Regions from separate parts of the Homo sapiens genome. Here region 2 is linked to region 1. Evidence: promoter capture Hi-C in 16 types of primary human blood cells and fetal thymus (Javierre and others, 2016). All regions are on one chromosome and are shown on one strand. Each heading gives the region's core, a stretch centred on a gene start or on the middle of the fragment in contact. The rest is flanking DNA. Distances are from core to core; before and after follow the strand shown. Region 1 holds the start of KRT39 (keratin 39). Region 2 has its middle 7.7 kb from the start of KRTAP9-1.

Evidence for each region. Contacts are between HindIII fragments. The CHiCAGO score rates a contact against its expected background, and 5 or more counts as called.
Region 2: a contact is called between a fragment that was not itself captured here and the fragment with the promoter of KRT39 in region 1, in 1 of 17 cell types (erythroblasts). The highest score is 5.2, in erythroblasts.

Annotation. Positions count from the first base shown.
Region 1 is chr17:40,963,410-40,969,816 of GRCh38, reverse strand. It overlaps KRT39 (keratin 39), which reads left to right and starts at 2,869. Exons shown (of 7, transcript NM_213656.4): 1 at 2,869-3,428; 2 at 5,289-5,371; 3 at 6,034-6,190. The coding sequence starts at 2,961. The region is part of intron 1 of LOC107985072 (a long non-coding RNA gene); the gene reads right to left. The HindIII fragment of the contact is 5,044 bases long and covers 106-5,149 here.
Region 2 is chr17:41,194,512-41,200,710 of GRCh38, reverse strand. No RefSeq gene overlaps it. Among named protein-coding and RNA genes, the nearest start is that of KRTAP9-1, 7.7 kb to the right of the region's middle. The HindIII fragment of the contact is 1,378 bases long and covers 2,664-4,041 here.

The DNA.
Region 1 (6,407 bases), core at 1,620-4,119:
TAGCGTGAGGTAGAGATCAAGATGTATTCATTTTGGCTATACAAGTATCCACTTGATTCAGCGACAAGTATTGAACAGTATTGAAAAAACAGTATTGAAAAAGCTTTCCTTTTCTCATTGACTTGCTTTGGGATCTTTGTCAGAAATCAATTGACCACATATATGTGAGTCTATTTCTAAACTCTATATTCTTTCTCATTGATCTACTTTCCAACCCTTATGCCAATATCACACTGTTTTAATTGTAGTAGCATTATAGTAACTTGCATGAATTTACATTTCATTGCCACAAGCAATGAGAGTGCTATAGGCAGTGAATGTATCTGTTATCAAACTTTGATTTTTTTCAGTTTGATAGGTGGAAAACTAAAATATCTCAGTATAATTTAAATTTACATTTCTCTTTTCATGAGTGACATTGAGCATTTTTTCTTATTTTAAGTGCCTTTTGTATTTTCCTTTTGGTCACTGTCTAGAGTGTAATTGTAATATTGTTTCCCAGTTTGTCATCTTGTCTTCTGGTTTTACAGGTTGTATTTTTCACCCAAGCACAAGTTCAAACACTGTTATTTTATGGAGTCAAATCTAACAGTTTTTTACGGCTTCTTAATTTTGAGTCATCATTGGAAAAGTCTTCTGACTCCAAATTTATAAAATAATTATCCTTTTGGGCATATTTATTATTTATTTTTCATATCTCAATCTTTGATCTACTTGTAATTCGTCCCACTGTAAAGGATGAAGTATGGTTTCAACATTCCCTGCCCCCACACCAAAGGGAATACAAAATTGTCCCCAAAGTACATATAATACATATAACGGTCTACCTTTTCCCCATGGCTTTTATTTTGTATTTTATTTTATTTTATTAAAAATGAAATCGCACTGTGTTGCCCACCTGAACTTGAACTCCTGGGTTCAAGTAATTCTTCTGCCTCAGCCTCCTACAGAATGGGAGAAAATTTTTGCAATCTGTCCATCTGACAAAGGGCTAATATACAGAATCTACAAGGAACTTAAACAAATTTACAAGAAAAAACAAACAACCCCATCAAAAAAATGGGCTAAGGATATAGAAAGACACTTCTCAAAAGAAGACATTTATGTGGCCAACAAACATATGAAAAAAGCTCATCATCACTGGTCACTAGAGAAATGCAAATCAAACCACAATGAGATACCATCTCACACCAGTTAGAATGACAATCATTAAAAAGTCAGGAAACAACAGATGCTGGAGAGGATGGAGAGAAATTGGAACACTTTTACACAGTTGGTGGGAGTGTAAATTAGTTCAACCAATGCAGAAGACAGTGTGGCAATTTCTTAAGGATCAAGAACCATAAATACAGTTTGACCCAGCAATCCTATTACTTGATACATACCCAAAGGATTATAAATCATTCTACTATAAAGACACATGCACATGTATGTTTATTGCAGCACTATTCACAATAGCAAAGACATGGAACCAACCCAAATGCCCATCAATGATGGACTGGATAAAGAAAATGTGGCACATATACACCATGGAATACTATACAGCCATAATAAAGGATTAGTTCATGTCCTTTGCAGGGACATGAATAAAGCTGGAAACCATCATTCTCAGCAAACTCACACAGGAACAGAAAACCAAACACTGCATGTTCTCACTCATAAGTGGGAGTTGAACAATGAGCACACATGGACACAGGGAGGGGAACATCACACCGGGGACTGTGAGGGGGTGAGGGGCTAGGGGTGGGATAGCATTAGGAGAAATACCTAATGTAGATGACAGGTTGATGGGTACAGCAAACCACCATGGCACTTGTATACCTATGTAGCAAACCTGCACGTTCTGCACATGTATCCCAGAACTCAAAGTACAAAAAATCTCATAATTCAAGAAAAAAAAAAAAGGATGAAAAGGGGCCACTAGCTGAGGATGTGGACAGCCTGTAGAAGCTGGAAAAGGCAAGAAAATGATGTTCCCCTAGAGCCTCCATAAAGGATTAGCAGCAAGTAACTTTCTGAAGAAAATGCTGAGTAAGTATTCCTCAGAAAGAAAACACACCCCTTTCAATGAATCCTATTTAAACATCCAGTATAAACCAACACTGTGATACATTTTTATCTAATGTAATACCACAAGCAAACACCAAGCACTAAAAATGTTATAAAATGTGGACTTTGGAAAACCAAAAGAGAGCTAGTCTCTTTTCCAAGAAATTTCTTATTAGCAATCAAACCCTACCTTTTCCCCATGGCTTTTATTTTATTTCATATTTTATTTATATTTTATTTTATGTTATTACATTTTATGGAAAGCTAAAACATAAATCTAGCAATTATCTTTAAAACAAGACTTTTAAAAGACTAACATTTTAATTCATACTCACATTGTCCTGACACTGAAAATGGGGAAACCATTTGGGCAGAACAAACTAAAATATTGACTTCTGATTTCTAAGTTTACCAATAATTATTAAACATTAATAGTTTCCCTTTTCTAGAGAAGAAAGGAAAAGAAGGATGAACTCATTCCTGGTTAAGCTCAGTGCCAAGTGGAGAGGTCAACAAGAATGTAATGAACTTAGTATACTCACACCTGCTTAATAATGGATGCTGTTAGGACAGTTCCTTTTGAAGACATAATTTGAAGCTCTGGGTCCAATAGACAAGTAGTAGTTATGATGGGTAATAACTTACTAACAGCCTAAATGCACATGTTTATGAGACAAATAACTCTTCTTAAGCAAGTAAAAAGCAGACTAATAAGATGTTCCTACAGGATTTGATATAAACCTGAGAAAGGAAAACATCCCACCTGTGTGACACCACGTAGAAGAGAGGCTATATAAGCACTTCAAAGAGGAAAACACCAAGAGCCTTGGAATTCAGACTCTGTGGAGGTGGCTTGAGCTTTTCATCCTGGTGACCACAGACCTGGAACAAACTAAAGCCAGACACATACTATGGACACCAAGGGCTGTACAACAACCAATTCTCCTTCAACCCCATGTCAAAACTGCTCTAGGATTACAAATGTTAGTACCATCTCTTCTAACAACGGCTGCCATCCTGGTGGCCTTACAGTCAACAACTGTCAACCAGCTGGCCACGTTCTCAGAATTCCCTGGGACCAGGGCTGCCAACCCACTCCTCGCTTTTGTCGCAAGCCCATCTACCTAATGAACAACTTCAATGCCCGTTTTTCTCTGGATGACTGCAGCTGGTATGGTGAAGGCATCAACAGTAATGAGAAGGAGACCATGCAAATCTTGAACGAGCGCCTTGCTAACTACCTGCAAAAGGTGCGAATGCTAGAACGAGAGAATGCTGAACTGGAATCTAAAATCCAGGAAGAAAGTAACAAAGAGCTCCCTGTTCTATGTCCTGATTACCTGTCTTACTACACTACCATTGAGGAGCTCCAGCAGAAGGTAAGATTCCTAAGAACCTGTTTAATCGTGTTGTGAATTAATGGTTTCCAAGCAACAGTTATTTGCTAAACTTTAATATTTTTTGTTCAGTTGATGCTGAAAATTTTTTTGAAGAATAGAAAAATTTCTTGAGTGAAATTGTCATCTTGAGGCAGCATTCAGAGTCTGATAGTATTTCTGGTCAGGCGCAGTGATGCACACCTGTAATCCTAACACTTTGGGAGGCTGAGGCAGACAGATCACTTGAGCCCAGGAGTTCTAGACCATCCTGGGCAACATGATGAAATTCCATCCTTACACACACACACACACACACACACATACACACACAAAAAAAAATTAGATGGGCGTGGTGGCACATGCCTGTGGTCCCAGCTACTTGGGAGGCTGAGGTGGGAGGATCACTTGAGCCCAAGAGGTTGAGGCTGCCATGAGCCAAGATCCTGCCACTGCACTCCAGCCCAGACAAAAGTGAGACTATGTCTTTAAAAATCAGAAACAAAAAGAAGAGTCTCATGGTGTTTCCTTTCTCCAGAAATACACTCTACCATTATAACTAGATGACTCAGGACCAAAAGATGTTAACAGCAAGTTGTTGCCATTTTTTAAATAAAAATAGGGAAACAGAGATCAGAGAAAATAAATTTTGCTTTAATGAGTTTCTAAGCAATTTAGTTTTTATCCATTTTTCAACCATCACCACCTTTTTCTCCTTTTATGCTTATGTTATCATCTCCACATTGCTTGGTTTGTTTCTACACCAAACCTAAGTTTGTTATGCACAGACGTATTCTGCTACTACATATCTGGATTTATTCAGTTTTATTCATTCAACAAATGTTTACTGAGCAGCAACAACATTGGGCCAAACATTGTTCTAGATTCTGGGAAAATATTGGTGACCTTTAAAAAGTCCCTGCCCTCATGGAGTTGACATTCTAGTGGATCATGGTATTTATATAAATTTAGGATGGATTTTATTTTATTTTTTATTTATTTATTTATGTATTTATTGAGATGGAGTCTCACTCTGTCACCAGGCTGGAGTGCAATGGCGCGATCTCTGCTCACTGCAACCTCCAGCTCCCAGGTTCAAGCGATTCTCCCTCCTCTGCCTCTCTAGTAGCTGGGTCTACAGGCACGCACCACCACACCCAGATAATTTTTGTATTTTTTTTTTTTTTTGAGACGGAGTCTCGCTCTGTCTCCCAGGCTGCAGTGCAGTGGCGCGATCTCGGCTCACTGCTAGCTCCGCTTCCTGGGTTCATGCCATTCTCCTGCCTCAGCCTCCCAAGTAGCTGGGACTACAGGCGCCCGCCACCACGCCCAGCTAATTTTTTTTTTTTTTATATTTTTAGTAGAGACGGGGTTTCACCGTGTTAGCCAGGATGGTCTTGATCTCCTGACCTCGTGATCTACCCGCCTCGGCCTCCCAAAGTGCTGGGATTACAGGCGTGAGCCACTGCGCCCGGCCAATTTTTGTATTTTTTAGTAGAGACAGGGTTTCACCATGTTGGCCAGGATGGTCTTGATCTCTTGACCTCGTGATCCGCCCGCCTCAGCCTCCCAAGTGCTGATATTACATGGGTGAGCCACTGCTCTCAGCCTGGATTTTTTAACAACAACAACAAAAAAAATACTTAAAAGTTTCTAGTTAAGTACTTTTTGCTGATCTTTTAGGAAAATAACAGGAAATCTGACTTTCTGAAGTTTTCCAAGCTTTGTGAGCATAGCTATGAAGATTAATAAAAAGTCTACTTAGCCTTCCCCTGTTACTTGACACACACACAAACCCCTTGGTTCTTAAAGAAGGAAATCTTGGTGTTTGCTTCATTTGTGTGTACAATCTCTTAATTCTAGATCTTGTGTACCAAGGCCGAGAATTCCAGACTGGTCTCGCAAATTGACAACACCAAACTGACTGCAGATGACTTGAGAGCCAAGTAAGCCCACCCAACACCGTCATCAATGACAGAGCTCACCCTGAGTCTGACCGAGATGCCCTCAACAAAATTGTCCCCATGTCTACTAACCCTCTTGCCCCAGATGATGTTGGCACAAGCCCAGAAAAGACTTTCAAATTCAATGAATGATTAAGATTAATAACTGCTCACATGTATACAGTACCTATAGTTTCTAACTTGTGAACCCATTTGATTACCTACACAATAGTTCAGTAAAATAGATAGGACTAATATATTGTTACTCTCTTTAAGGTGAGAAATCTGTGGCTTAGTGAGGCTAAGTTACTCACCCAAAGGTAAGCATAACTAGCACAAGTCAAAACCGAAACTTGGACACATGTTTTCTGAGCCCTAATCCAGTGCTTTCTTCACTTACATTGCATTGCCACTAGGGGCAGAGGAAGGACAATAAATTCCCATATCTCAAAGAACAGCAATGTAGATCCCCCTAGCAAACTAATTTGGGAATAATAATTAAGTTATGATCTATATCAAATGGTTTCACCTCCAAAGAGAATAAAACTTCTAATAGAAATACACTAAGTGAGGTGCCCAGAGCAAAATGCAGATGAGAGTTCTGCTTGGCTTGGTTTGCATCATCTCCTTTCAGATGTCTCTCTTTTCCCATCTGGTTTTTAAAGATACGAAGCTGAGGTGTCTCTACGCCAGCTGGTAGAGTCAGATGCCAATGGCCTCAAGCAGATCCTGAATGTGCTGACCCTGGGCAAGGCCGACCTAGAGGCACAAGTCCAGTCTCTGAAAGAGGAGCTCCTTTGCCTCAAGAACAACCACAAAGAGGTGAGACAAAGACCAATAGAGTAATCACAAGCTAAGTCCCTAAAAGTAGCATCAGTTCCTTTGAGTTGCACCTGACAAAGGGTGTGCCCGCTTGTATTAGTTCGTTCTCACACTGCTATAAAGAAATAACTGAGAGTAGGTAATTTATAAAGGACAGAAGTGTAACTGAGTCACAGTTCCACATGGCTGGGGAGGCCTCAGGAAACTTACAATCATG
Region 2 (6,199 bases), core at 2,103-4,602, 230 kb before region 1:
AAGAGAAATTAATAAATTGATTAAAAAAATTATGTTCTGCAAAAGAACAGAGGAGAAAAAGACAAGCTGTGAACTATACATGATATATATTTGCAAATCACATATTTGACAAAGGAGTAGTACCTAGAATGTATAAAGAACTTTAAAAACTGAACAATTAGAAAGCAAACACTAAAAGTACAGCATGGGCAAAAGACATGAAGAAATATTTCATGGAAAAAGATATACAGATGACAAATAAGCATGTGAAAAGATGTTCAACATCATTAGCCATTAGGGAAATGCAAACTAAAACCACGAAAAGTTAGCACACCTATCAAAATGGCTAAAATAAATGCTGGTGAGTGTTCAAAGAAACAGAATCAGTCATACATGTAAAATGGTACAGACACTCTGCAAACAGTTGATGCTGTTGCTTAAAAATTAAACATGCTGGCCGGGCACAGTGGCTCATGCCTGTAATCCCAGCACTTTGGGAGGCTGAGGCGGATGGATTGCCTGAGGTCAGGAGTTTGAGACCAGCTTGGCCAACATGGTAAATCCCTGTCTCTACTAAAAATACAAAAAGTTAGCGGGCGTGGTGGCGCATGTCTGTAATCCCAGCAACTCGGGAGGCTGAGGCAGGAGAATCGTTAGAACCCAGGAGGCGGAGGTTGCAGTGAGCCGAGACAGTGCCACTGCACTCCAGCCTCGGTGACAGAGCAAGACTCTGTAAAAAAAAAAAAAAAAAAAAAAAATTAAACATGTAACTACCATACAACTCAGTAATTGTACTTGTTCACACAAATGTTTGTACATGAATGTTTATGGCTGCTTTGAACTGGAAGCGACCCAGATGTCCTTCAACACATGATCAAACAAACTGTGGTACATACATACCAGAGGGTAATTCTTAGTGACAAAAAGGAAAAACTGTTCAACAATCTGTTTAAATTTTCACGGAATTATGCTGTGTTGAAAAAACCAGTCTCAAAATGTTAAGCACTGTATGATTCTTTTTATACAACATCCTTGAAATGACAGAATTATACAAATGAAGAACAGATTGGTGGTTGCCAGGTATAAAGAAAGGAGTGGGTGTGGGAGGCAGGTGAGAGTGGCTATAAAAGAACAATCAAAAGAGATCATTGCAGTGACAGAAATGTGTTGTACATTGGCTATGTCAATATCAATATCATATGCTGTTGGTGATGTTTTTCTATAGTTTTGGAGGATGTTATTTTTTGGGGAAACTGGGCAAAGAGTACATGGATCTCTTGTATCACATCTTACAATGGCATGCCAATCTCTATTCTTTAAAAATAAAAATTTTAATTAGAAATTTAATTTAACAAAGGAAGAAACAGGTTTTTGTGTGTGTGTTAGTGGTGTTTTTTTTTTTTTTTTGACGGAGTCTCACTGTTGCCCAGGCTGGAGTGCAGTGGTGCGATCTCAGCTCACTACAACCTCCATCTTCCTGGTTCAAGGAATTCCCATGTCTCAGCCTCCCAGGTAGTTGGGATTACAGGCACACGCCACTACGCGCAGCTAATTTTTTTCTATTTTTAGTAGAGATGGGATTTCATCATGTTGGCCAGGCTGGTCTCGAACTCCTGACCTCAGGCAGTCCACCTGCCTCAGCCTCCCAAAGTGCTGGGATTACAGGCGTGAGCCACCATGCCCCGATGAAACAGTTTTAAGAAGCATTTTATCTTTAAAAGGTAGAAGAACATGGGTTTTGGAGATCGGACAAACATCTGACCACTTCCACTGTTACCACGAGATCATGCATCAGACAGAGCTGAGCAGCTTTTTTTTTAAAAAAAAATTTACTTCCATAAGTTTTTGGGGAACAGGTGGTATTTGGTTACATGAGTATGTTCTTTAGTGGTGATTTGTGAGATTCTGGTGCACCCATCACCCGAGTAGTGTATGCTGAACCCAATTTGTAGTCTTTTATCCATCACCCCTTCCATCTTTTCCCCTGAGTCCCCAAAGTCCATTGTATCATTCTTATGCCTTTGCATCCTCATAGCTAGCTCCCACTTACAAGATTTCAGGTTCGGTTTTCCATTCCTGAATTACTTCTCTTAGAATAATAGTCTCCAATTCCATCCAGATTGCTGTGTCATTAATTCATTCCTTTCTATGGCTGAGTAGTATTCCATCATATATACAACCATTTCTTTTTCCACTCATTGATTGATGGGCATTTGGGCTGGTTTCATATTTTTTGCAATTGCAAATTGTGCTGTTATAAACATGCACGTGCAAGTATCTTTTTCGTATAATGACTTCTTTTCCTCTGGGTAGATATCCAGTTTTGGGATTGCTGGATCAAATGGTAGTTCTACTTTTAGTTCTTTAAGGAATCTCCACACTATTTTCCACAGTGGTTGTACCAGTTTACATTCCCAGCATGAGCAGCTTTTTAAATTAAAAAAAAAAAAACTAACTTCTTGGTGAATCTGGATTCATAATATCTGTACTCCATTCTGAGGGGACTTCAGATGTTGGCATGATTTTACTCCAGTATGTGTTTTAAAAAGAAAAGGAAGGACACTCCCTAAATCCAATCCCTAGAAGTTCTATCAACATCCTCTCAAGCCTTTATATCATTTATTTATACTTATATCAAGTACTCTCAAGCTTTTATATTAATTAGACAGGTACAGTAGAAAGCTTTTAGGTTGGGTAGATTCTGATATCGATTTTCAGAAGATTCCAATATTCTTATCTAAGCTGAAAGAAGGTATTGAAACATCATACAAATACCGTGGGAATCTCTCAGAACAACTTACATAATACAGTGTTATCAGTCTTCAAAATTTCTATAATTTCATATAATATCAGTATTATCAGTCTTCAAAATTTCTATAATTTCATGAAGTTCTTAATATCTTAGAAACAAATCTACACTTGTTAACCTCAGTGGGAATCATTATACATGTTCCTCTGATTCTTTTTCCATTTTTCCACATTTTACACATGAGCAAACTCTGAACATAACAAACCTCACAATTCTCCAGTGAGTCAATCTGATGTTGATAGGACTTCCAATATTGGCAGTTCTGGGGGCTCTCTCACACTTCTTAAACTATCAATGTTATAGCTGGGATTGGAATTAGGGAGTGTCATTCCTTTTCTTTTTAAAACACATACTGGAGTAAAATCATGCCAACATCTGCCATCTAGGGGGAATTCTGAATGGAGGTTCTCCAGTGGAAAAATAGGGAAGTTTTGTTACATACATTGTACACTGGACAGAGCTAAAGAAAATGAAAAACCATTTCGTGAAAGCATTACTTGGTCTTGTCCATAATAATATTATATTTTAATAGAGGACTGAAGTGTGGAATTGTCTTTTATGTTTAATGGCAGTCATAGGAAAAATTGCAGTAGGATGTGCATAAACCATCAGAACTCACTGAGGGATCCCAGGGGAAGGAGTGTGATGGGGGAATCACACAAACAGGTGTATGATGTCATGTTACTGTCTAATGATAACAAAGAGCCCATGCCAGTTTCTGAAGACAGACCTGCATGGCTGCAGCTTATATTTTTATTTGGAAGAAAGAGAAAGTGGACAAAATCCGGAGTTGCCTAAAATATAATTTGTATGCTATGGCCTGAAACTTCATAAATGATCCATAAATATGATGGCAAAAGTAAACAAAATTAAAAATGTTTTGTAGGTCTTTATGAGGCAAAGGCATAAATGAGGTTGTATCAGAAGTTGGGGAACATGGGAGGGGCTGCTTCAAGACCTGCAGAAATTACTGTAAGTTGATTGAAGATGGTTTTAAAAAGAACCTGGGACTTATAAATGGGGGTGGAGGTTTGGTGAGCCATGGCAGCTTAGAGAAAAGAGAGAGTCTGAGACAAATTCAGAAGTGCTGGTTACGACACATTGCATGGGGGAGGGAGAGCCACCCAAGGCACTTGAATTTTCCAGAGTGCCTGGCAAAATCTGTTTTAGAACAAATGCATTAGATGCCATTCCGTATTATTAGAACTTCTAGAATATTAGAATGTTCTAAATATTTGCTGAGAAAATAAGCTTTTAGGGCAATACAAGGGATCCTTGTGCTGATGGAGCTACTCTGTGTCTTGAAGGTATCAATGTCACCATTGGACTTGTGATACCGTACTGTAGTTTTGCAAGAAGTTATCATTGGGGGGAAACTTGGTAAAGAGTACAGAGGTTTCTTTGTATTATTTCTTGCAACTGCATGTGAATCTACAATTATCTCAAAAAGTTTAATTATAAAAAAGAAAATAACCTTTGGTTATAATTTCACTTTTCATGCAGGTATATCTATAGGAAGAAAATATCCTGGTCAAAAAGACCCATGAAAATGTCATCTTCTCTTTAAGTTATTTCTCATGTAGATTCTTCAACTGGTACTAATGTTATGGGCTTGGTGAAAGTGAGCCTGCTCCCAGAGGTGGTTTCACTCTTAGAATGTAAATAATTTCAGTTTCTGGAGTGTGCAAGGCTGAAGGCCAGATACTGGTACGTTTTTCAAGGTAGTATTTACTACCCTGGAAGACAGCCTTCCTGTTTCCTCCAAAGGATGCCTAATAAGTATGTATGGCACTTTGTGTTTCTTTTTAAATTTTACATATTTTACATATTTTGTTGCTTATGGACTTCAAAAATCAGCGAATGGTCAATTTTGAATCCAACAAAAACATTTGGGAACTTTTGAAGTATCTCAAGAACTGAAGTGACCTCTGAAGTCCAATAATAATAACCAATTACCAGACACTGCGAATCCTTGGCACAATGTTCTAATGATTGTCCAGCCAACGCTTGCATCCCAATAGTGTTTAGAATTCACATTGCCAGAATAATTTTTGCATTAGCTCCTTCCACTCTAGGCCTCTGGCAATTTTTCCTCATTGGGATCATTTGCAAATGGAATGAACCGAAAGGAATTCCTGTGAGGTTCCTACTCTTACTAGCCATCTTTTCTCCCAGTGCTTCGTCCCAAAAAAATCACCTTAAATTTCTTCTAAGCTCTGGCATCTGCCTTCTTACTGAACAGATGACATTCTTACCAGGCGTATTTCTTCTCCCCAGCCTTTGCAGACTTTAAGATGCTCACTGTTTCCCAAGGTCTTCATCACTGACTTTATTTCTTTATTTTTTTTCACTTTTATTTTAAGTTCAAGGGTACATGTGCAGGACTTTTTTTTTTTTTCAGATGGAGTTTAGATCTTGTTGCCCAGGCTGGAGCACAATGGTGCGATCTCAGCTCACTGCAACCTCCGCCTCCTGGGTTCAAGCCATTCTCCTGCCTCAGCCTCCCAAGCAGCTGGGATTACAGGCATGCGCCACCACACCCGGCTAATTTTGTATTTTCAGTAGAGACAGGCTTTCTCTATGTTGGTCAGGCTGGTCTCGAACTCCTGACCTCAGGTGATCCACTCACCTCGGCCTCCCAAAGTTTTGGGATTACAGGCGTGAGCCACCACGCCCGGCTGCAGGTTTGTTATATAGGTAAACTGCATGTTGCAGGGTTTGGTGTACAGATTATTTTGTCACCCAGGTAATCAGCATAGTACCTGACAGGCAGTTTTTCAATCCTCACCCCCCTCCCACCCTCCACCCTTAAGTAGACACAGGTATCTCTGTTGTCCCTATCTTTGTGTCCATATTTACTCAATTTTTAGCTCCTACTTATAAGTGGAGATAATAAGCAGTATTTAATTTTCTGTTCCGGTGTTAGTTTGCTTAGGATAATGGCCTCCAGCTCCATCTATGTTGCTGCAAAGGGCATGATCTCATTCTTTTTTTATGCCTGTGTAGTATTCCATGGCATACATATACCACATTTTCTTTATCTAGTCTACCATTGATAAGCATTTAGGTTGATTCCATGTCTTTGCTATTGTGAAGACCATCACTGACCTTATTAACCACAACTTCTGCTTTGTTAGAATTGAGTTCACAGAACTTTTGCTGGATATTCACAATCTTACCTATTCTATTTTTTTCCCCATTTCATCTCAACTTTATTTTTTTCATTTTAACTTTTAACTGAAAGTTTTTGGGCAAAAATCTACATAGCCATGATATGATGCAATGTGTTTTGGATATCAGTTTACTTTTTTTAAAATTGTACTTTAATTTCTGGGATACATGTGCAGAACATGCAGGTTTATTACATAGGTATACATGTGTCATGGTGGTTTGCTGCACCTATCAACCCGT